Regions from separate parts of the Homo sapiens genome. Here all the other regions are linked to region 1. The links are contacts of gene promoters, found by promoter capture Hi-C in blood cells and fetal thymus (Javierre and others, 2016). All regions are on one chromosome and are shown on one strand. Each heading gives the region's core, a stretch centred on a gene start or on the middle of the fragment in contact. The rest is flanking DNA. Distances are from core to core; before and after follow the strand shown.

Region 1 (4,215 bases), core at 523-3,022:
CCTCTACTCCCCACACCCCACCACCACCTCACACTGCCCTTTAGGAAGCGAATACTCCAGCCCCAGGCCTCTTCCCTTCAACATAGATCCTGAGTGGCCCTTCCCTTGCCTCCAGACACATTCACAAAACTGTTGGTTTTGTGGACATGAGTCAGAGAATTTACAGGAGTTCAAAGTACACAGCCACACTCTTCCCACCACAAAACGGACTCTCTCTGATTCCCCAGAAGACAAGCAAGAAGGCATTCACCCTGTCGGCAGATCGCCTCCAGAAATGGAAACCATCCTCCAAAAAGAGGGTTCCTTGGGAATTCTATCCCGGTGACTGACGCTGGGATTTCTTCCAACTCCTCCACCCACTCCATTAGTTCACCTTGCCCTGTTTTGTAAAGATGGGCTGGGGTAGCCCCAACCTGGGGTGGGCAGTGTTGATGGAGGGCAATCACTACTGGGGTGAAAGCCAGTCACTTAGGCATGAGTATGCCACTGCTGTCCCCCCAGCAGGGTAATTCAGACGGCACCAGAGTGGTGGGAGGCAGAGGACAGAAACCCGGGGTTGAGGCATGCGTTAAGGGACCTGGAGCCTCCAGCCCAATTAGAAGACTTTCCCTCCAGGCTATGATTGGGCCAGAACAGCAGGCAGCCCAGGCCAGGACACTAGGCCCAAGGCCAAGATGGCATGGACAACTCCCTGTGAGAGGCAGCCCCAGAGGGACTGTCCCACTGACCCCTTAAGAGGGGCAACTGAGCCCCACACAGGGCCTGGAATGGAGCCTGGAACTTCTGGGGCCTTCCCCAAGACAAGACAGTGTGGCTACATCAGACCTCTCTCCAATCGCTCTCTTGAATTCCCAGATGATCCAGAGCGGCCGGTTGACTTTGCCGGCCCACCCTACACCTAGGGAAGGAATCCGTTCTGGAGATACCAAGAGATACTGCATTCTCAACTTTAAAACCAGAGTGAGGGCGGGACTCGGCCTCGGGATCCCAGTCCCAAACCCCAGGATACTCTTTCTTGGTTCGAGTATGAAGAAGGAGGATTCTCAATCTCATTTTCTCTCTCTCTCTCTCTCTCTACACACACACACACACACACACACACACACACACCACACACACACACACACACACACACACACACACACACACACACACACACACACACACACACACACACACACACAGAGTTGGATCCTTCCCCATCTCCCTTATCCTCAACACAAGCGGGCTCCAGGAACCGTCCAGGGCGGCGTCCAGACCCTGCCGAGCAGTGGCAGGCCCCAATGGTCACATCCCGCCCCTATTCCCGCCATACCTCCCTCCTGGCCTGGAGGAATTCCCACCCCATCCCACTCTAGGTCCCCTGCGGCCGCCCACCCTGGGGGCTGGGGCGTCTGAGTTGAAGTTCCCTCGCCCCTCGCCCGGCGGGGCAGGTTCCGGGAAGCTGGGAGGAGAAGGGAAGGGGCTCCGACTCGGACCTCAGGAGGCCAGAGCCCCTGCCGGCAGGTCCGGGCCCCCTCGCTGCAGCCCGGGGAGGGGCCGACGCGGTCCGACCACCGCCCAGCCCGGATGCCGACTCCGCTTGGAGGGAACGGGGTCCACGCCCAGGCCGAAGCCCCTCCTCGCACGGGCCCCGATCTCCGGGCCAGCGAGGAAGGGAAAGTGCTCTCCTGGGGACGAGTTCCCAAGACGCCCCACCGCCCGCAGCCCCGGCCCAGGGTACCTTCCGCTCCGCCGCCTCCAGCTGCGCGGCCGGTGCCGGAGGCTCAGACTGACCCCAGGGCCCCGCCCCGCCCTCCTCCAGCGCCGCGGCGGGGAGGGCGGGCCCGGCAGGGGGAGGGTCGGCCGGGGGCGGCCCTTGGCTCGGCCCGCCCCGGCCCCGCGCAGGGCCGCAGCCACCGGCCCCCTCCGCAGGCCGGGGACTGGGGGCCAGGGGCGTCCACCCCTCCAGGTCGGGGAGAGCCACGGGGAGATTCCTGGACTGCGGAGGAGCCGGGCGAGCGGGGGGAGCACGACCCGGGTGGACTCAGACTCTGCCCAGCCTTCAATCCCCTAGGGGAGGACCGGCGTCGGGAAAGTTAAGAGGTGCTCGGGGTGGGGTCAGGAAGGGCCGCTGCTGCCCTCCTGTGGCCAAGCGGCCACCCGCTCCTGCTGCACCTGGGACCTCGCGGGAAGCGGGACTGGGAAAGGGTATCCGCCGGGAGGTCCCAGGGCCCGGCGCGGGTGTGTTGGTTGGGGGGAGATGTCCACCCTCTTGTTCCTAGGATCGTACAGCCCAACGTCATCCCCCAAACTTGAAGACCTCTCAGAGCCGTTCAGACCCAGACCACCGTTCCTCCTCACAATTCGCTTTCTTCCCTGGGCCTGGAATTTCCAGGAGTCCAATTCCTACCTACTCCTCAAAGGGTGCGCCTAGAAATGCTTCTGGATCCCAGCTGTGAATTCTGTTCCCACTCCTAGGTCTGACTTGGCGCATAGGATATTTACCTACACGCGTATCTCCTTTCCCTGTAAGGGAGCTGAGGAGGTGGGAGTAGAATGAGGACGTCCACCAACATTTCATTGGCTTGTGCTTGGGACACTACACAGCTTAACCCTTTCAATATTCATCACAGATCTCTGGGGAAAATATACCCATCCCCTTTTGCCCATAGAGAAGCTGAGGTTCAGAGAAATCAAGTGGCTTACACAACTGTTTTTGACTTGTGACAGCAAGAATTCACACAGCCGGGCCTGTCTGGCTCCAAACTGGTGGTCTGGCCCTGCTACCTCACGGGCTCCTCCAGCCTGTCCCTTCCCCCGTTGTCTAGCAGAGTGAGTGGCACATAATAGGTTGTCAACAAATATTTGATGAATGAATGAATGTTAGGAGTCATACAGACTTTAAATATCTGAAGTGCAATCCAGACATTTGACAAATGTGAAAACAGGTCCGCAGCAGTTTGGCCCCAGGCCTCTTAACTGACTCAATGAACATTTCTCGAGGGTGAACTGAGAGCTATGTTCGGAAGATCCATTTCTGCCTTCAAACAACTTAGAGTCTAAATGAGGAATGCAATTTCAAGATAGCTAACATTTATTGAATCCATATTACATGGACCTGGGTCCACATACATTAACTACAAGAATCCCATGAGGTAGCTATCTCCATTTTACTGAGAAGCAAATTGAGGTTCAGAGAGGTTACAGAGCTAGTGCTGGGTCTGACACTAGAACCCAAACAGCTGAACTCTAGAGCCCCTGTTCTTAATTCCTACTCCCTACTGACTCCTAATGTAGACAGTTACAATACCGGAGGTCATTGCTGTAGTGTGGGCATGTGTGGGCTGTGCGATACCCAGTCCTGAACAACAGGTGAAGTTCTCAAGATAAGGTGATGTGTAGATTTTTTTAATTTTAATTTTTTTTTGAGACAAGGTCTCTGTTGCCTAAGTGTGCAGTGGCAAGATCTCAGCTCACTGCAGCCTCAACTTTCCAGGCTCCAATGATTTTCCCACTTCAGCTTCCCCAGCAGCTGAGACTACAGGCGTGTACCATCACACCTAATTTTTGTATTTTTTGTACAGATGAGGTCTTGCTATATTGCCCAGGCTGGTGAGGGGCCTTTTCTAATTATTTTGCTCATCTTTATTTTTGCTTCCCTTAACTTACTTTGGGTTTAATTTGCTGTTCTTTTTCTAGCCTCTTAAGGTGGAAACAGATCACTGATTTGAGATCTTTATTCTTTTCTACTATAAGCAATACTCTTAATTTCCTTGGATGCTTAACTGCTTCCCACAGGCACTCACCACTACATTCAGCTAATTTTTTATTTTTTTGTAGAGATGGGGTCTCACTATTGCCCAGGGTGGTCTTAAACTCCTGGGCTTAGCAGTCCTCTCACCTCTGCCTCCCAAAGTGTTGGGATTACAGGCGTGAACCACCGTGTCCAGCAGTAGATTTTGAATAAGTTGGAGCTACTAAAAGCCCACAGTTATGCAAACCCCAGGAAGTTGGTGGTGGTGGTAAAAAATGAAGCTGGAGAAGGAAGCAGTGGCTGGATCATGAAGGTCCTTATATGCCATGCACAGGAGTTGAGTGTTGATTTTGTTCTAGGCGCAATAAGGAGCCACTAAATTTAGGAGGCCAATATAGTAAAAGGTGGTGGTGACTGAAGGCGGGGAGAGATGGAGATAAGTAGAGAAATACTTTTAAAGGTCTATAGTCAACAATACT
Region 2 (4,215 bases), core at 558-3,057, 980 kb after region 1:
CGGAGGTTGCAGTGAGCTGACATCACACCACTGCACTCCAGTCTGGCTGACAGATGATGAGACTCCATCTCAAAAAAAAAAAAAAAGTATACCCAAACTTCTAGTTAGTTCCCAGACCCCACAGTGAAGATGTGCCATAGCAGAGGCTGCAGAAACAAACAGGCAGTAAAATCGTTTTGTTGTTTTAGTGAACATATTTTCTTACTGGTCACAACAGGGAGAAAAGCTTTGAGATATTATTACATTGTCTCCCTAGTGAGATTAGAAGGCTAAGATCCTATGATATTGTCTTTAGTTACATCAGTCTTGGACCAGGCAGCTTTTGAACAGGAACAACTCTTATTTCAGAAGTCTTGGATCCAGAAAGGCACTTGGCTTTTTATTCTACATGAGAATACCTTGTTACTTCCCTTTTTAATAGCAAGATTTAAAAGAGAAATAAATGTAATCATGTAGAAGTAAAACCAAATGCTTTTAAACATGTAGACAAAGAATTATTTTATGTTTAATATGTCCACCATTCAAAGAGTAAGGATTTATAAGGCAAGGAGTATTCAGATTAAACTGTATAAAACAAACAGTCTCACTAATGACTTCCAGAAAGCTGTATTTAAGTTGAAGCTTAGTCCACAGTGGAGCTAAGGAACATTGATATAAATAAACTTGTTACAAAATGTGACATTTCAGTCTGGTATGAGGAATACATCAGAGCAAGTTTTTACATCATCATGGCATGCTCCAAGGCCTAAAAACTATTTGTGCTTTGAAACAATAACATTTATTTATTCGGGTGGCTCTTTTCTGGTTCTATTAGAGTTTATCGGGAATATGACTTGTTTAAAGCATGTCATTATTACATGGAATCTATAATCTTTGCTTTTAGCTAGCTGAATTAACTTAATATATCAACTAAGTTGGATATTTTTTCAACATTGCTAGGCAAGTAGCCTTAAGAATTATAAAGCCAGGCATGGTAGTAGACACCTGTAGTCCAAACTACTCAGGAGGCTGAGCTGGGAGGATCACTTGTGCCCAGGAGTTTGAGTCCAGCCTGGATGACACAGTGAGACCCCCATCTCAAAAATAAATCTTTTTCTTTTTTTTCCCCTTGAGATGGGGTCTCACTCTGCCACCCAGGCTGGAGTGCAGTGGCACGATCTTGGCTCACTGCAACCTCTGCCTCCTGGGTTCAAGCAGTTCTCCCACCTCAGCCTCCCCAGTAGCTAGGACTACAGGCGCACACTACCACACCCAGCTAATTTTTGTACTTCTTGGTAGAGATGGGGTTTCACCATGTTGGCCAGGCTGGTCTCAAACCCCTGATCTCAGGTGATCTGCCCACCTCAGCTTCCCAAAGTGCAGGGGTTACAGGTGTGAGCCACTGTGCCCAGCCAAAAAAAAAAAAATTTTTTTTTAAGTAGTATAATAAGGGAGTATGAAGGCTTATAAGGAGTTAGAATTCTGGCTGGGCGCGGTGACTCACGCCTGTAATTCCAGCACTTTGGGAGGCCAAGGCAGGTGGATCAGGAGGTCAGGAGATCAAGACCATCTTAGCCAACATGGTGAAACCCATTTCTACTAAAATACAAAAAAATAGCTGGGTGTGGTGGCGCATGCCTATAATCTCAGCTACTTGGGAGGCTGAGGCAGGGGAATCGCTTGAACCTAGGAGGCGGAGGTTGCAGGGAGCTGAGATCATGCCACTGCACTCCAGCCTGGCGACAGAGCAAGAACTGTCTCAAAAAAAAAAAAAAAAAATTCTATTTAATAGAAAACTCTGAATCTTTCTTATGTATACATTAAAATAGGAAAACATAGCCAAGAGCTTTAATTTAGCCTAAACCTATATCTTGACAAATAATCCTGTGGGTATTTTGCAATACTGCATTCAAGTCAAGCCTAACTATTAGCAAATACACAAATCAAGAGACATATTTTGTCCTTAATAAAAGATAATCGGCTGGGCACAGTGGCTCACGCGTGTATTCCCAACACTTTGGGAGGCCGAGGCAGGTGGATCACGAGGTCAGGAGATCGAGACCATCCTGGCTAACACAGTGAAATCCCGTATCTACTGAAAATACAAAAAATTAGCCAGGCGTGGTTGCACGCGCCTGTAGTCCCAGCTACTCAAGAGGCTGAGGCAGGGGAATTACTTGAACCTGGGAGGCAGAAGTTGCAATGAGCCAAGATCGCACCACTGCACTCCAGCTTGGGTGACAGAGCGAGACTCCATCTCAAAAAAATTAAAAAAAAAAAAAATAGAAAAATAAAAGACAACCATTTATTAACTAGAGTAATACCCTATTATACCTTATAGGCTCAGGATATGCTGCAGGAAAGGTATAGAATTATTGCACATTTGTGAAACTCACACTTCACTATTCAACATGGGCCCCAATAACAGCAGGGAGCAAAGGATTACTAAACTAGCCAGTACATGAATAGATTAGGTTTAATGAATTAACTCCCAAGTGACACACTGTATTTGGAAGAGAGACTCATCTAGCCTATTATGAGTGTGTAGATCTAAAAGTTTTCACACATAAATTTCATTAATTTGAAAGATTATTTTTAAACTGCATAGGTCCACTTGCCTCTAAATAAAATGAACCTAAAATAAAAACAAACTATACTTTGTGAGACATCCTGGTATTTAGAATTTTTCTACCTGTCTCTGAAAGTCAGAACCATACTCCAATGAGGCAAGTATTTGGTTATTCAACTTCTCAAAGTGTTTATATTATACATGGGCCATATTGTACATATTTAGAAAGTCTGTAGATCAGCAGTCCCCAACCTTTTTGGCACCAGAGACTGATTTCATGGAAGGCAATTTTTCCACGGACCTGGGGGCAGGGAGAAGGGATGCAGGGAGGGGGTGGTTTCAGGATGATTCAAGTGCATTACATTTACTGTGCACTTTATTATTTCATTGTAATATATAATGAAATAATTATACAACTCACCATAATGTAGAATCAGTGGGAGCCCCAAGCTTGTTTTCTTGCAACTAGACGTCCCATCTGGAAGTGACGGGAGACAGTGACAGATCATCAGGCATTAGATTCTCATAAGGAGCACACGACCTAGATCCTCGCATGCACAGTCCACAACAGGGTTCACGCTCCTCTAAGAATCCAATGCTGCTGCTGACCTGACAGAGGTGACCTGACAGAGGTGGAGCTCAGGCAGTAATGCAAGCAGTGTGAGCAGCTGTAAATACAGATGAAGCTTCACTCTCACCTGCAGCTCACCTCCTGCTGTTCAGCGTGGGTGTGGGTGGCTGGGGACCCCTGTGGTATATTATACACCCACAGCAACTTTAGGAGAGATAATTTTTCCCAATATAACTGCAGATTATAAAATTAAGTCAACAGGTATTTTTCTTACCCTTCTATGGTTATTACTATTCCAACTAAATGTATGAATGGCCTAATCTAATTGTTTTTACATCTTGGTTTAATTTCTCAGTAACAAGTAATTATCACCAAAATCTCATTCCTTTTTTGAAATCAAAACAAAAGCCCAAGTTCCTAGAAATTATTATACAGGGATAAATGAGGCACTGAAGGTGGGAGAACCATGAAATTACAGTTGATCCTTGAACAACATGGGTTTGAATGGTGTGGGTCCACTTATATACAGGCCTTTTTCTGTAAGTATATTGGAAAATTTTTTTGAGATTTGTGGCAATTTGAAAAAACAAACCATGTAGCCTAGAAATATAGAAAAATTAAAAAGTTATATAGATACTAGCCTATTTTATCATTTACTATAAAATACACACAAATCTATTATAAAAAGTTAAAATTTATAAAAACATACAAACAAACTGTACATGGCACCATTCACGGTTGAGAGAAATGTAAACAAAGATACAGTATTAAATCATAACTGCATAAAATTAACTGTAGTACATACTGAGCTACTATAATTATTTTGTAGTTACCTCCTGTTGCTATTGTGGTGAACTCAAGTGTCAAAAGATCTGTTTAAAACACCATGTGATGCTAATCATCTCTGTGTGAGCAGTTCATCTCTCCATAAACCGTGGATCACAGTAAAAAGTGATCCCTTGCGGTTCTTGCATATTTTTCATGGTTAGTGCAATACTGTAAACCTTGAGGACATAAAAACTGCAGGACCCATATGAAGCACCACCAGTCATAGAAGTGCTCCCAAGAAGCACAGAAGAGTCATGACATTACAAGA
Region 3 (4,215 bases), core at 1,061-3,560, 960 kb after region 1:
ATCTGGAGCCTACCTTTGTATGTAGTTTTAGGAGGGATGTAGTTTTATTTTTTATTCTTAAGATGAGCCAGATTTCCCAACACCAGCTATTAGACAGCACTTCTTTGCCTTATTTATTTGTGATGCCATCTCTCCTATATATCAACTTCCCCTTTAAACATGAGTCTCCAAGTCCTCTATTCTGTTCTATTAGTTTATTTGTTCTTGGGCTGATGATATGTGTGTGTGTGTATTTTTTATTTTTTTATCTGTAAGTTTGTGATACATCCTAATATATCTGCTTATTAGGGAAAACCTATCTGTCTCCCTGTTTCTCAAAATTGACTACATATTCATGGAACTTTTCTATATAAAATTTTAGAACAAATTATTAAGCTCCTCCAAAAAAAATCAAAGTGCAGTTTTTTGGGGATATATTGTGTATACGCGTATATAAATATATATGTGTGTATGTATATATATTTTGGGGGTGGAGAATATCTTTACATATTAAGTCATCTCACCAAAGATCATGGACTGTATTTCCAATTATTCAGCTCATCTTTTATGTCCTTTAATAGAGTTTTAGAGTTCTAGTATGTTCTCTCATAGGGTTCTTATTTACTCTTGGTAAGGTGAGTCTCAATAGATTATAATGTTTATTGCTGTAGTTTAACTGTGGATTTTGTTTTTATCTTTTGAAAATACACTTTCTTTTAAGTGTATTATTATAGGCATACCTTGGAGATACTGCAGGTTCAGTTATAGGCCACTGCCATTAGGTAGTGAATATTGCAATAAAGTGAATCACATGAACTTTTTGGTTTTCTAGTGCATATAGAAGTTATATTTACACTATACTGTAGTCTCTTAAGTGTGCAATAGCAGTATGTCTTAAAAAACAATATACATACCTTAATGAAAGTATACTTTATTGCTAAGAAATGCTAATGATCATCTGGGCCTTTAGTAAGTCTTAATCTTTATGCTGATGGAGGGTCTTGCCTCGATGTTGATGGTTGCTGACTGATTTGGGTGGTAGTTACTGAAGGTTGAGGTGGCTGTAGCAATTTCTTAAAATAAGACAATAAAGTCTGCCACATTGACTCTTTCTTTCACCAAAGATCTCTCTGTAGCATGTGATGCTGTTTGATAGCATTTTACCCACAGTAAAACTTCTTTCAAAATTGGACTTTGTCCTCTCAAACTTTGCCTCTACTTTATCAACTAAGGTTATGTACTATTCTAAATCCTTTGTGGTCATTTCAACAGTGTTCACAGCATCTTCACCAGGAGTAGATTCCATCTCAAGAAGCCACTTCTTTGCTCATCCGTAGGAAGCAAATCCTCACCTGTTCAAGTTTTGTCATGAGATTACAGCAATTCAGTCCCAACTTCAGGCTCTACTTCTAATTCTGTTCCTTGCTGTTTCTACCACATCTGCAGTTACTTCCTCCACTGAAGTCTTGAACCTCTCAAAGTCATCCATGGGAACTAGAATCAAATTATTCCAAATTCCCGTTAATGTTGATATTTTTGACCTCTTCCCCATGAATCACGAATGTTCTTAATGTCGTCTAGAAACCTTTCCAGGTTTTCAGTTTGCTTTGCCTAGACCCGTAGAAAAATCACTATCTGTGGCAGCTATAGACTTACCAAATATATTTCTTAAAATACTAAGACTTGAAAGTCAAAATTACTCCTTGATCCATGGGCTACAGAATGGATGTTGTATTGGAACTCATGAAAACAACATTTATCTCCTTGTATTTCTCCATCAGAGCTCTTGAGTGACTAGGTGCTTTGTCAGTAAGCAGTAATATTTTGAAAGGAATCTTTTTTTCTGAGCAGTAGGTCTCAACAGTGGGATTAAATTATTCAGTAAATCATGCTGTAAACAGATGTGCTGTCATCCAGGCTTTATTGTTCCATTTTTAGAGCATAGGCAGAGTAGATTTAGCATAATTCTTAAGGGCCCTAAGATTTTTGGAGTGTAAATGAGCACATGAATTTACCAGCTGCATTAGCCCCTAGCAAGAGAGTCAGCTGCCTTTGAAGCTTTGAAGCCAGGCATTGACTTCTCCTTTCTAGCTATGAAAGTCCTAGATGGCATCTTCTTCTAATAAGAGGCTGTTTTGTCTACCTTGAAAATCTGTTGTTTAGTGTAGCCACCTTCACCAATGATATTAGTTGAATCTTCTGGAAAAGTTGCTGCAGCTTCTGTATCAGCACTTGCTGCTTCACCTTGCAGTTTTATATTATAGAGATGACTTCTTTCCTTAAACCTCATGAACCAGCTTCTTCTAGCTTCACACTTTTCTTCTGCAGCTTCCTCAGCTCTCAGAATGGAAGAAAGTTAGGGCCTTGCTCTGGATTAGGCTTTGGCTTATGGAAATACTGTGGCTGGTTTGATCTTCTATCCAGACCACTAAAACTTTCTCCATATCCAGCAATAAGGCTGTTTCATTTTCTTGTCACTCATTTGTTCACTGGAGTAATATTTACAATTTTCTTCAAGAACTTTTCTTTTGCATTCACAACTTGGCTAACTGGTACAAGAGGTCTAGCTTTCAGCCTGTCTCAGGTCTCAACAAGCCTTCCTCACTAAGCTTAATCAAGTCTAGCTTTTGACGTAAAGTGAGAGATATGCAACTCTTTCTTTCACTTGAATACATAGAGGTCATTGTAGGGTTATTAATTGGCATGATCAATATTGTGCATCTCAGGGAATAGAGGGGCCTGAGGAGAGGGAGAAAGATGGGGAAAGGCTAGTTGATGGAGCCAGCACACACATATTTATCGATTATGTTTGCCATTTTATATGGGTGTGATTTGTGGCACCCAAAAACAATTAGAGACAAGTAACTTGAAATTGACATACCCAGTAAGCAAAGGTGGAAGACCTGGGAATTTCCAGTGGGTACAAGAATATAAATATCAAAGATCACTGACCACAGATCACCATAACAGATATAATAATAATGAAAAAGTTAGAAATTTTGGAAGAATTACCAAAATGTGACACAGAGACATGAAAGTGAGCACATGCTGTTGGAAAAATGGCACTAATAGACTCGCCCAATGCAGGGTTGCCATAAACCTTCAATTTATAAAAAATGCAATAAAATGAAGTGTACTAAAATAAGGCATACCTATACTTACAGACAGAAAGCCCAGCAAAAATGTAATTCTCATCGAAGGAGAGATATACTTAACCCATTGCTTTACTATTTTAAGAATTTTCAAATAAAATTCAGAGAGAAGATAGGCCTGTTTGACATTATGGAATAAATATTTGACTTTGTGAAGTAAAATAGCTTATAACAGAAAAAAAATGGAGAAGCCATGTAGCACGGGTTGAAGGACTAAAAATGAAAAGAATCCCAGTGATAGGAAGTTTTACTTAAATTTGATGAAGACAACAAAACAACAAAAAACATGTAACTTTTTTTTTTTTTTTTTTTTTTTTGAGACGGAGTCTCGCTCTGTCGCCCAGGCCGGACTGCGGACTGCAGTGGCGCAATCTCGGCTCACTGCAAGCTCCGCTTCCCGGGTTCACGCCATTCTCCTGCCTCAGCCTCCCGAGTAGCTGGGACTACAGGCGCCCGCCACCGCGCCCGGCTAATTTTTTGTATTTTTAGTAGAGACGGGGTTTCACCTTGTTAGCCAGGATGGTCTCGATCTCCTGACCTCATGATCCACCCGCCTCAGCCTCCCAAAGTGCTGGGATTACAGGCGTGAGCCACCGCGCCCGGCCAAAAACATGTAACTTTAAAAGTAAGCACCAATTTGTGGTACATTTTGCCTGGAACTGAAATGTCTCATCTGGAATGGAAGGTAGAGGAAAACTTGAAATTGATCAGATTACTTCTATTGTCCTGCTCTGATGTTATACACTCATTACAATAGCCAAGCTAGTAACGCCGATAAATTATCTCTCTTGACCACATGCAAAGGTACAAGTATCTCCCAGTCATCTCATTGGCAAATGGAATTTTCCCCATCATTTTCCATCTCCTTAATAGTAACCATGAATTTACAGCGACCGAAGACAATCGAACTCTATACTGGGCAGTAAAGTTTAGAGACAGGTAACTTGAAATTGACATACCCAGGAAGCAAATGTGGAAGAACTTATGGAAATTTCTAGTGAGTACAGGAATATCGAGATAACTGAGATGTGATTCTTGCAATCAAGGAGTTCAGAGTCTAGTAGGAGAGACAGGTGTTCTGCCA
Region 4 (4,215 bases), core at 601-3,100, 740 kb after region 1:
GCAGCCTGACCAACATAGAGAAACCCCATCTCTACTAAAAATACAAAATTAGCCCAGCGTGGTGGTGCATGCCTGTAATCCCAGCTACCTGAGAGGCTGAGGCAGGGAAATTGCTTGAACCTGGGAGGCAGAGGTTGTGGTGAGCCGAGATCACGCTATTGCACTCCCCTGGGCAACAAGAGCAAAACTTCATTTCAAAAAAAAAAAAAAAAGAATATTTTGCAATATCAGGGGGCAATAATGTGATATGCTGGATAGTAAAAAGTTAATGAGGACATAGATGCCTAGTCTAAGCAAAATAGATAAGAAGTTGCTGATCGTAATTGATGAGAATGACGTCACAGTGGAATAGCAGATAATGCATGAGTGGTGAATTTCCTCGTTTAGTCTTACTTTGAGGCAGCAAATAAATCCTTTATAAGTGTTGCATTACTTTTATGGTGTGTGTGTGTGTGTGTGTGTGTGTGTGACAGAGAGAGAGGCTTCAATCCTTAAATCATGTAATATTAAGAAAAAACAAATGAATTCACTTAGAAGATTTGGGGCTGGATCTATATTTTTTCATCATTTTAACATTTGGGGGTTAAAATTTCCAGACCGTTGGAGACGACATCCATCCAGAACAGAGTAGATCCTGGAGATTCTGGATAAATTATCTGCAAGTGCATTTTTTTTTCCCAATAGATTGAGTTTATTATCAACATTCAGTTTGCTGATTAAAAAATTTTTCAGTATATCGATATTGAACTCGAGTTGGAAGAGGCGAGTCTGGTCTCAAAATGGAGGGCCATGATCCAAAGGAACCAGAGAAGTTGAGAAAACTGTTTATTGGTGGTCTGAGCTTTGAAACTACAGATGATAGTTTAAGAGAACATTTTGAGAAATGGGGCACACTCACAGATTGTGTGGTAATGAGAGACCCCCAAACAAAACGTTCCAGGGGCTTTGGTTTTGTGACTTATTCTTGTGTTGAAGAGGTGGATGCAGCAATGTGTGCTTGACCACACAAGGTTGATGGGCGTGTAGTGGAACCAAAGACAGCTGTTTCTAGAGAGGATTCTGTAAAGCCTGGTGCCCATCTAACAGTGAAGAAAATTTTTGTTGGTGGTATTAAAGAAGATACAGAAGAATATAATTTGAGAGACTTCTTTGAAAAGTATGGCAAAATTGAAACCATAGAAGTTACGGAAGACAGGCAGAGTGGGAAAAAGAGGATTTGCTTTTGTAACTTTTGATGAGCATGATACAGTTGATAAAATTGTTGTTCAGAAATACCACACTATTAATGGGCATAATTGTGAAGTGAAAAAGGCCCTTTCTAAACAAGAGATGCAGTCTGCTGGATCACAGAGAGGTCGTGGAGGTGGATCTGGCAATTTTATGGGTCGCGGAGGAAACTTTGGAGGTGGTGGAGGAGCTATGGTGGTGGAGGTGGTGGCAGCAGAGGTAGTTATGGAGGAGGTGATGGTGGATATAATGGATTTGGAGGTGATGGTGGCAACTATGGTGTGGTCCTGGTTATAGTAGTAGAGGGGGCTATGGTGGTGGTGGACCAGGATATGGAAACCAAGGTGGTGGATATGGTGGAGGTGGTGGAGGATATGATGGTTACAATGAAGGAGGAAATTTTGGCGGTGGTAACTATGGTGGTGGTGGGAACTATAATGATTTTGGAAATTATAGTGGACAACAGCAATCAAATTATGGACCCGTGAAAGGGGACAGTTCTGGTGGAAGAAGCTCGGGCAGTCCCTATGGTGGTGGTTATGGATCTGGTGGTGGAAGTGGTGGATATGGTAGCAGAAGGTTCGAAAAACAGCAGAAAAGGGCTACAGTTCTTAGTAGGAGAGAGAGCGAGGAGTTGTCAGGAAAACTGCAGCTTACTTTGAGACAGTCCTCCCAAATGCATTAGAGGAACTGTAAAAATCTGCCACAGAAGGAACGATGATCCATAGTCAGAAAAGTTATTGCAGCTTAAACAGGAAACCCTTCTTGTTCAGGACTGTCATAGCCACAGTTTGCAAAAAGTGCAGTTATTGATTAATGCAATGTAGTGTCAATTAGATGTACATTCCTGAGGTCTTTTATCTGTTGTAGCTTTGTCTTTTTCTTTTTCTTTTCATTACATCAAGTATATTGCCCTGTAAATTGTGGTAGTGGTACCAGGAATGAAAAATAAAGGAATTTTTAACTTTTCAAAAGAAAAATTTTTCAGTATATCTGCATAAATGAAATTGGTCCATCATGTGTATTAGAGGAAGCTATCCTTACTCCGTTTGTTATCAGGATTATGTTAGCTTGAAGAATGGACTGATAAACTTTCTATAAGGCTTATTACAGGCTTTAACCTGTAAAATTGATCTCATCGTAAACAGCTTTGAGAGTATACAGATAGTTGACTATTTTTCTTCTCTGGTTTCTTCAGATACTCTTCATCATCTTGGATTTGTTTTAATAATTTATATATGTTAAAGAAAATAATCAAAACTGTGCAGATTTATAAATCTTTAAAATTGTACACAATATTATATATTTTAAAACTCCCTACATATGCAGTTTTATCACCCTTCTCATTTATGGTACACCATAAGACTCACTTTTTGATGCCAAGTGTTCTCGAAAATGTCCTAAGGAAGATCATTGCTGGAACAATGTTATTTTTGAGACTTTTGTTCCTTATAAGGAAATAGACATCAATTAAGGAGGGAATTTTTTTTTTGGAGGTGGAAATGGGTAGTATGATCAAGCAACTATATGTATATTTCCCTGGGGAACACGGCATTAAGAAGAGAAAATAATCCCAACTATTAACAATTTCATCTGTGCAGTGGTTTTTATTCTGCAACATTGTCTTTTCTATTTTTGTACATGTTTTCTAGAAAAGGTAAACATGTAGTAGAAATAAATGTGATGTTAATTGCTATGGCAGTGTGTCTGTACACATTACTTTTTTCTCCTGTCTACCCACCTTCCATTGGCAATCACCCAACTGGTTAGGTAAATGAGGGTGGATGGATAATAAACGTTTCTTCACAATTACTTCCTTAGCTCTCAAAAGGGATTCTGAAGCATTCCATTATAAGTGCTGCTTACAGACATGCTGAAATGACCACTTTTTGCTCTGGAGTGATATTCTTTGCTTAATAAAGAACAAGAGATCACAATATCTTTCTTTCCTGAGCAGAAGCAGGGCAAACTGTTGATTCCTTTTTGTTTTTTTCCTGCAAAGAAAGGACCTTGCTTATGTCACCCAATTTCCCCTTTCAGGAAGGGGAAGTAATTTTTAGTAAGTCAAGGTATGTAGTAGCCATAAGGTCTTCTGTTTAGGATTAAGGTTCAGTGAAGTCATTTGGCATTCATTTATTTTTGGAGTTTTGATCCGAAAGCTGCTTCATTGCAGAATTTTAGTCTGAATTATGTTCTAAAGATTGATGATCTCTCTATGGGACTTCACTGTAACTACTCCATTAGGACATCAGATTTAGCCAAGTATTTATGTGTTAATTTTGTTGGATTAACTTATGTGCATAGACATACACACACACACACACACACACACACACACACACTGAAGCCTCATTGTTCCCTTAAATTTTAATTTTTATTTGATATCTTTTCATAATCTATTGAGAAAAGTTATGATGGGAATGCAGTACTGTGAGTTTGCACTGACAATAAAGGTTGATCTATGACAGCCTCTTAGAAGCAACTACTTTAAAATATTTTATAGTGGGAAAAAACCCCACAAATGCAGTTGTTGTTTTGTATACTTTTTTCTCTGTTGACCTGAATAGGATTAAATAACCTCTAGGGTGATTTGCCCATTCAGCAAAGTGGCACAGGCCAAAAAGGAGATTAAAGTAGGATGAGGGGGAAACAAGGAAAACATGACAAAGGAAAACCCAAGATTAGAAAGACTCAGTGAAGAAATTTTACTCAAAGAAATAAAGAGGTTTTTTCTTCCTTCAGTATCCCCAAAGCAATATAGCAGGAAATCTTACTTTGATTATCCATCAACAAGCAAGAGTGGAATTAATAAGTTGACCAGCAAATTGATACATTCCACTGTGCACGCAAAAGTCAGACCCTTATAAGTAAGCAGTTGCATGATATACTTTATAAGTATATAAGCACATATGTTACAAGTTCTTCATGGGAAAGCAGACCAGCTCAGCCTAGCCTGAATGCCACCTAGTGTTCTCTTGTATGTATAGG
Region 5 (4,215 bases), core at 1,150-3,649, 690 kb after region 1:
AAGCCCCTTCTGGAACCTCCTGGGGACAATTCCCTTTTCCTTTCTTCAGCCTAACCCGCGGTGGCCCTCGCGGAGTCCGGTCAGCCCCGGGGAGCGCAGCCGGGAGGGGCGTCCAAGGGGCGTCTCGCGTCTGGGAACGGCCGGGCCCCCAGCGGGCTGTGGTCGCGGGGTGGGGGCCGGAGCGGCGAGGCCCCCCTTACCGGGCTGCGCGGGCCGCCCAGGGCCCCCGGGCTGAGACGGGGCCGGAGCGGCGCCCCGGCCGCCCGCGCGGGGTCTCCCCCATGGTGCAGCGGGGTTCGGGATGTCGAAGACGCTGAAGAAGAAGAAGCACTGGCTCAGCAAGGTGCAGGAGTGCGCCGTGTCCTGGGCCGGGCCCCCGGGCGACTTCGGCGCGGAGATCCGCGGTGGCGCGGAGCGTGGCGAGTTCCCCTACCTGGGGCGGCTCCGCGAGGAGCCCGGCGGGGGCACCTGCTGCGTCGTCTCGGGCAAGGCGCCCAGCCCAGGCGATGTGCTGCTGGAGGTAAACGGGACGCCTGTCAGCGGGCTCACCAACCGGGACACCCTGGCTGTCATCCGCCACTTCCGCGAGCCCATCCGTCTCAAGACTGTGAAACCAGGTACGCCGGCCCTGCGTATCTGTCTCGGGGTGTTGGGGAGAGGGGCTTCAGGGTGGGCGTCCTGGGAGCGGCGGCACCTCCCCACCGCGTATTGTCCCGGGTAATCTTAGACCTCTAGGGTGTGCCAGACTCCTTGACGAGGGGGAGGGGTGGCGTTGGTGAGTCCCATTTTGCCGAAGGGAAAACTGAGCTCTGGCTTGGCGCGGTTGCTCTGCTAGCTGTGCTAGCTGTCACAGAATTGCGACTAGAAGCTGGGTTTCCTACATTTGTAGCTCCATCTCCCCCCGCAGACAAGAGTTTTTGACTAGAGAAGGCCAGCCTTTTCCTGTGTTGTGCAAAAAGGCCCTTAGGATTGTAACATTTTCTTTGGAACGATCTTACGCATCTTCTAACAGGGAAAAAGGGACTTTACTATAGAGGCACTTGGTGCCAAGGTTACCACCTGGTGTACCTGGAAGGGCTTAGCTGCTTCAGTGTTTCTTGCACTCTAGCAGACATCTCAGAGCTGACAGCCTAACTCTGTCAGTCCAGGTGGTTCAGGTGTCTGAGTACCGATGACGGTACAATATGTGATATGTGGCAGACTGGTGTGTTCTTGCAGGGAGCTGTTGAATAGAGTCTGGGTTTTGCAGGAAGACCTAGGTGCCTAGCGGAGTGAAAGCTTCTGTAACGCTTTTGATTTTACAGAATTTTGTTGAAGTGGTAGGTTAAAGGAGCCTCTGTTGCCCTGGTATCTTTTATGCTAGTAAAAATTGCTGCAAAGCACGTTATGTTTATGGCATACTCGTCAGTTTCAAAGCATTGATCAGAGACAGCATACAGTGAGATCTGATAGTATGTAGTAGTTCTTATGAATTTGTTATAGACAGCATTGTTGGTTTTGTTTCAGCATAGATAGAATGTGGTTCTGTCGTCTTAGATGTTTGTGGGAGAGAGAATTGTGATTGTAACATTATTAGAAACCAAACTGTTTTTCCTTAATGTGCTCTGCTGAGTATACGGTGCATCAAAATATAATGGGCTGGTTAATTGTTACCTGGGCTAGGTAGCAGTCCATCCCTTGATGGCAAAATGCTAGAAAATTCTGGATAAAAATTTAATATGTTATCTCCTTCTCATTTCTTTCTCAGCAGCTCGCTTTGGAAATATTAATATATCTTTAATAGTCCTTGAGCTTAATGGGGCTTGATGGTTTGTGGTGCAGTTTACATATGTCTGTGTATTGTGGATATGTATACACACAGACTCACATGCTCCTAAGGTCATAATTAAGATTTTCTTTCTATAGCGTATTCCATCGTATTCATTTTAAGTGTATGGGTTTATGTGGTGAGGTTTTCTTTTTATTGTTGTTAATTTTTTAAAACTTTGGCAGACTTTAAACAGCTTTTTCTGTATAGTTTTGAGAATTTGTAAATTTTTTTCTTAACTCTAACTTTTACAGCCATGTGTGAAAGGCAGAGGAAAGACTTTTGGGGCTGTAATTCAGCTAGTCAGGCACTGTCTGTAATATGCAAAAGGCTATATAGACAGCATTTACTAGTCTAGCTGCCAAATCTTAGTTCAAATCCCATGAGTTAGTGAATAGTGAGAACATCTGCATCATTTCTTTGTGTTTTGTTTTGATTCGTTAGGGCATAGATGAGAATATAACTTATTTTTAGAAATTTTAAAGTTGATATATTGACATGGAAGCTGGTGTATTCTAAATTATTGTGATCTTTTTTAGAAGACTGAAGAGATGGCTATTTCATAACATTAGTCTAATCTACCTGTTATACATTTTTCTCAACCTCTATATTATATTTAACAATAATTCAAGATTTAGAGCATTAGTAATATTAACTGTGTTGAATAAACATCCTATGCCCCCGTATGTAGTTGACATTATTAGAGTAATACAGTTTTGCCCTCTTGACAGCCACAGACACTGTTCTATTTTAAAGATTTAGCCAAAATAAAGGGAATAACGTATTAATGGCCACAGAACATTTTGTAGTCATTAGTAATAAAGTTCTGAATACTACACTTGTTTTTTGAAGAGACACTTTGTGTCAGTAATTTCTCAAGATACCATTATGTCTGTGTTATTTGAGATTAATATTGTTTCTAAGCAGGTTGTAATTTAAAATTTTTAATCTCTTTTAAAAATAGTATTCTTAGCTTCTTAATAGCCTCATGTTAGGTATTATATTAAATGGCTTTCTTAAATGGCTTTGCTTAAAAGCAACATTTGTTATAAAATAGCAAGATTTTTGCAGGTTAAACAGACTTTAAATACTAGAAATTAAGAATTTGAAGAGGTTATCTGTAGAACTTTTGAGTTTGATTAAAAACAAATATTATTTTCAGAAGAGACAAAGATTCTTTATTGTGATTCATTTTGGAAAGGATGAAAATAGAGTAAGGGAATTTAAAAAGAAACTTGCCATAAACATTGTTTTATTTTTTGCTTTTATCTAAACTTTGTGACAGAAATTGATTTTTCAATTTAATAAGGTATTGTAAAGTGTACTTAGCACTCTCTTGTCTTGACTAGTTGCTTTTTATTAAACCATATTCATAACATGACATTTAGAGACTAGCACAGTGAAAGAGTAAAATTTAACCATTTTTGTAAGATGTAATACTAATCGGAAATGTTCTCATATTGTCTTCTGACAAAGTCCATGGCAGAAGGATGAGCTGGGTTGTAGAACATGGCTTTTGTAGCACTGATTCTTCCTAGCCTTCTTTTCACTTAGGTGCTAAGGGTCGCCCTCCCAAAGCCAGTACTATCAGCCAGGTGACTTAACATCTTTCTGGCAGCTACTGTCTTTAGCTTTGATTTTTTTTCCCTTTTTTTGTTGTTATAATCTTTAATAGAGAATTGAAAGTTACTCTTTAAAATATGGTTTCTAATCTGAAGCTTTTCCTGAATCAATTAGGTAGTTTCTTATTGTTTTAGTGTAGTACTTAGTAGTCAGTACTTTGCCCGCTTATAGAAGAATCTTTGGTTTCACCTATTGCTTGGCTCGATTAGTTACTTGTTTCTTAATTATGACCCTGTTGTTTATTTTTCTGCAAAGAGAAAAGTTGTCATTTGAGTTTGAACTTTGTCTTTTCCCAGTAGTAAAGTTGAACTTTGGACCTCTGGTGAAATTGTTTTGTGATATACTACTATGACTAGGTTTAGTTTCTTTGATTTTACTACAGAGTATATATTCTTAAACCATTTCTATTCTGATTAATATACAAGTAGTGAATTTTGTTCTGAAATTCCCCAGACTCTAATTGTGCAGAGTTTTATGCTTCTTCATACACCTTTAAGCTCATATTTCAGCAGTTTGCTTTCAGTAAGTTTCAGTAAATTATGTGTATTTTATTCCAGAGATTAAGTATCGGTACAATAAATACATGAAATCATTGTCTACTGCCATATGCACACATTACATTCAACTACCCTAAGCAAGTAGTGTATCCAGGGATGGAAATCATAGGAAACAATGTTATAGTTTGTTTAAATAAAAACCAAGTTGAAACAGTTCCTGGGTAATGTTAAAGGTAGGTAAAAGTCTTCACTGCTGACTCTTTGGGACATCCAATTTGTAAGGGAGTT

The links. Contacts are between HindIII fragments. The CHiCAGO score rates a contact against its expected background, and 5 or more counts as called.
Region 2: a fragment that was not itself captured here is called in contact with the fragment with the promoter of RHOC in region 1 in 6 of 17 cell types (total B cells, total CD4 T cells, naive CD8 T cells and 3 more); the score reaches 7.0 in total B cells.
Region 3: a contact is called between a fragment that was not itself captured here and the fragment with the promoter of RHOC in region 1, in 1 of 17 cell types (monocytes). The highest score is 6.3, in monocytes.
Region 4: a contact is called between a fragment that was not itself captured here and the fragment with the promoter of RHOC in region 1, in 4 of 17 cell types (naive CD8 T cells, total CD4 T cells, naive CD4 T cells and 1 more). The highest score is 7.7, in naive CD8 T cells.
Region 5: a contact is called between a fragment that was not itself captured here and the fragment with the promoter of RHOC in region 1, in 5 of 17 cell types (non-activated CD4 T cells, fetal thymus, monocytes and 2 more). The highest score is 7.3, in non-activated CD4 T cells.

Annotation. Positions count from the first base shown.
Region 1 is chr1:112,705,355-112,709,569 of GRCh38, forward strand. RHOC (ras homolog family member C) reads right to left here and starts at 1,773. Exons shown (of 6, transcript NM_175744.5): 1 at 1,724-1,773. RefSeq lists an enhancer at 184-233 and a silencer at 1,493-2,212. The HindIII fragment of the contact is 12,151 bases long and covers 1-4,215 here.
Region 2 is chr1:113,686,754-113,690,968 of GRCh38, forward strand. No RefSeq gene overlaps it. Among named protein-coding and RNA genes, the nearest start is that of PHTF1, 71 kb to the right of the region's middle. The HindIII fragment of the contact is 2,377 bases long and covers 620-2,996 here.
Region 3 is chr1:113,665,146-113,669,360 of GRCh38, forward strand. All of the region lies in intron 16 of MAGI3 (membrane associated guanylate kinase, WW and PDZ domain containing 3), which reads left to right. Among named protein-coding and RNA genes, the nearest start is that of PHTF1, 92 kb to the right of the region's middle. The HindIII fragment of the contact is 551 bases long and covers 2,036-2,586 here.
Region 4 is chr1:113,448,921-113,453,135 of GRCh38, forward strand. The region is part of intron 1 of MAGI3 (membrane associated guanylate kinase, WW and PDZ domain containing 3); the gene reads left to right. It also overlaps the pseudogene LOC100421402. Among named protein-coding and RNA genes, the nearest start is that of MAGI3, 61 kb to the left of the region's middle. The HindIII fragment of the contact is 5,311 bases long and covers 1-4,215 here.
Region 5 is chr1:113,390,733-113,394,947 of GRCh38, forward strand. It overlaps MAGI3 (membrane associated guanylate kinase, WW and PDZ domain containing 3), which reads left to right. Exons shown (of 21, transcript NM_001142782.2): 1 at 1-617. The coding sequence starts at 302. Among named protein-coding and RNA genes, the nearest start is that of MAGI3, 2.3 kb to the left of the region's middle. RefSeq lists silencers at 199-328, 389-548 and enhancers at 229-728, 779-828. The HindIII fragment of the contact is 2,247 bases long and covers 1,277-3,523 here.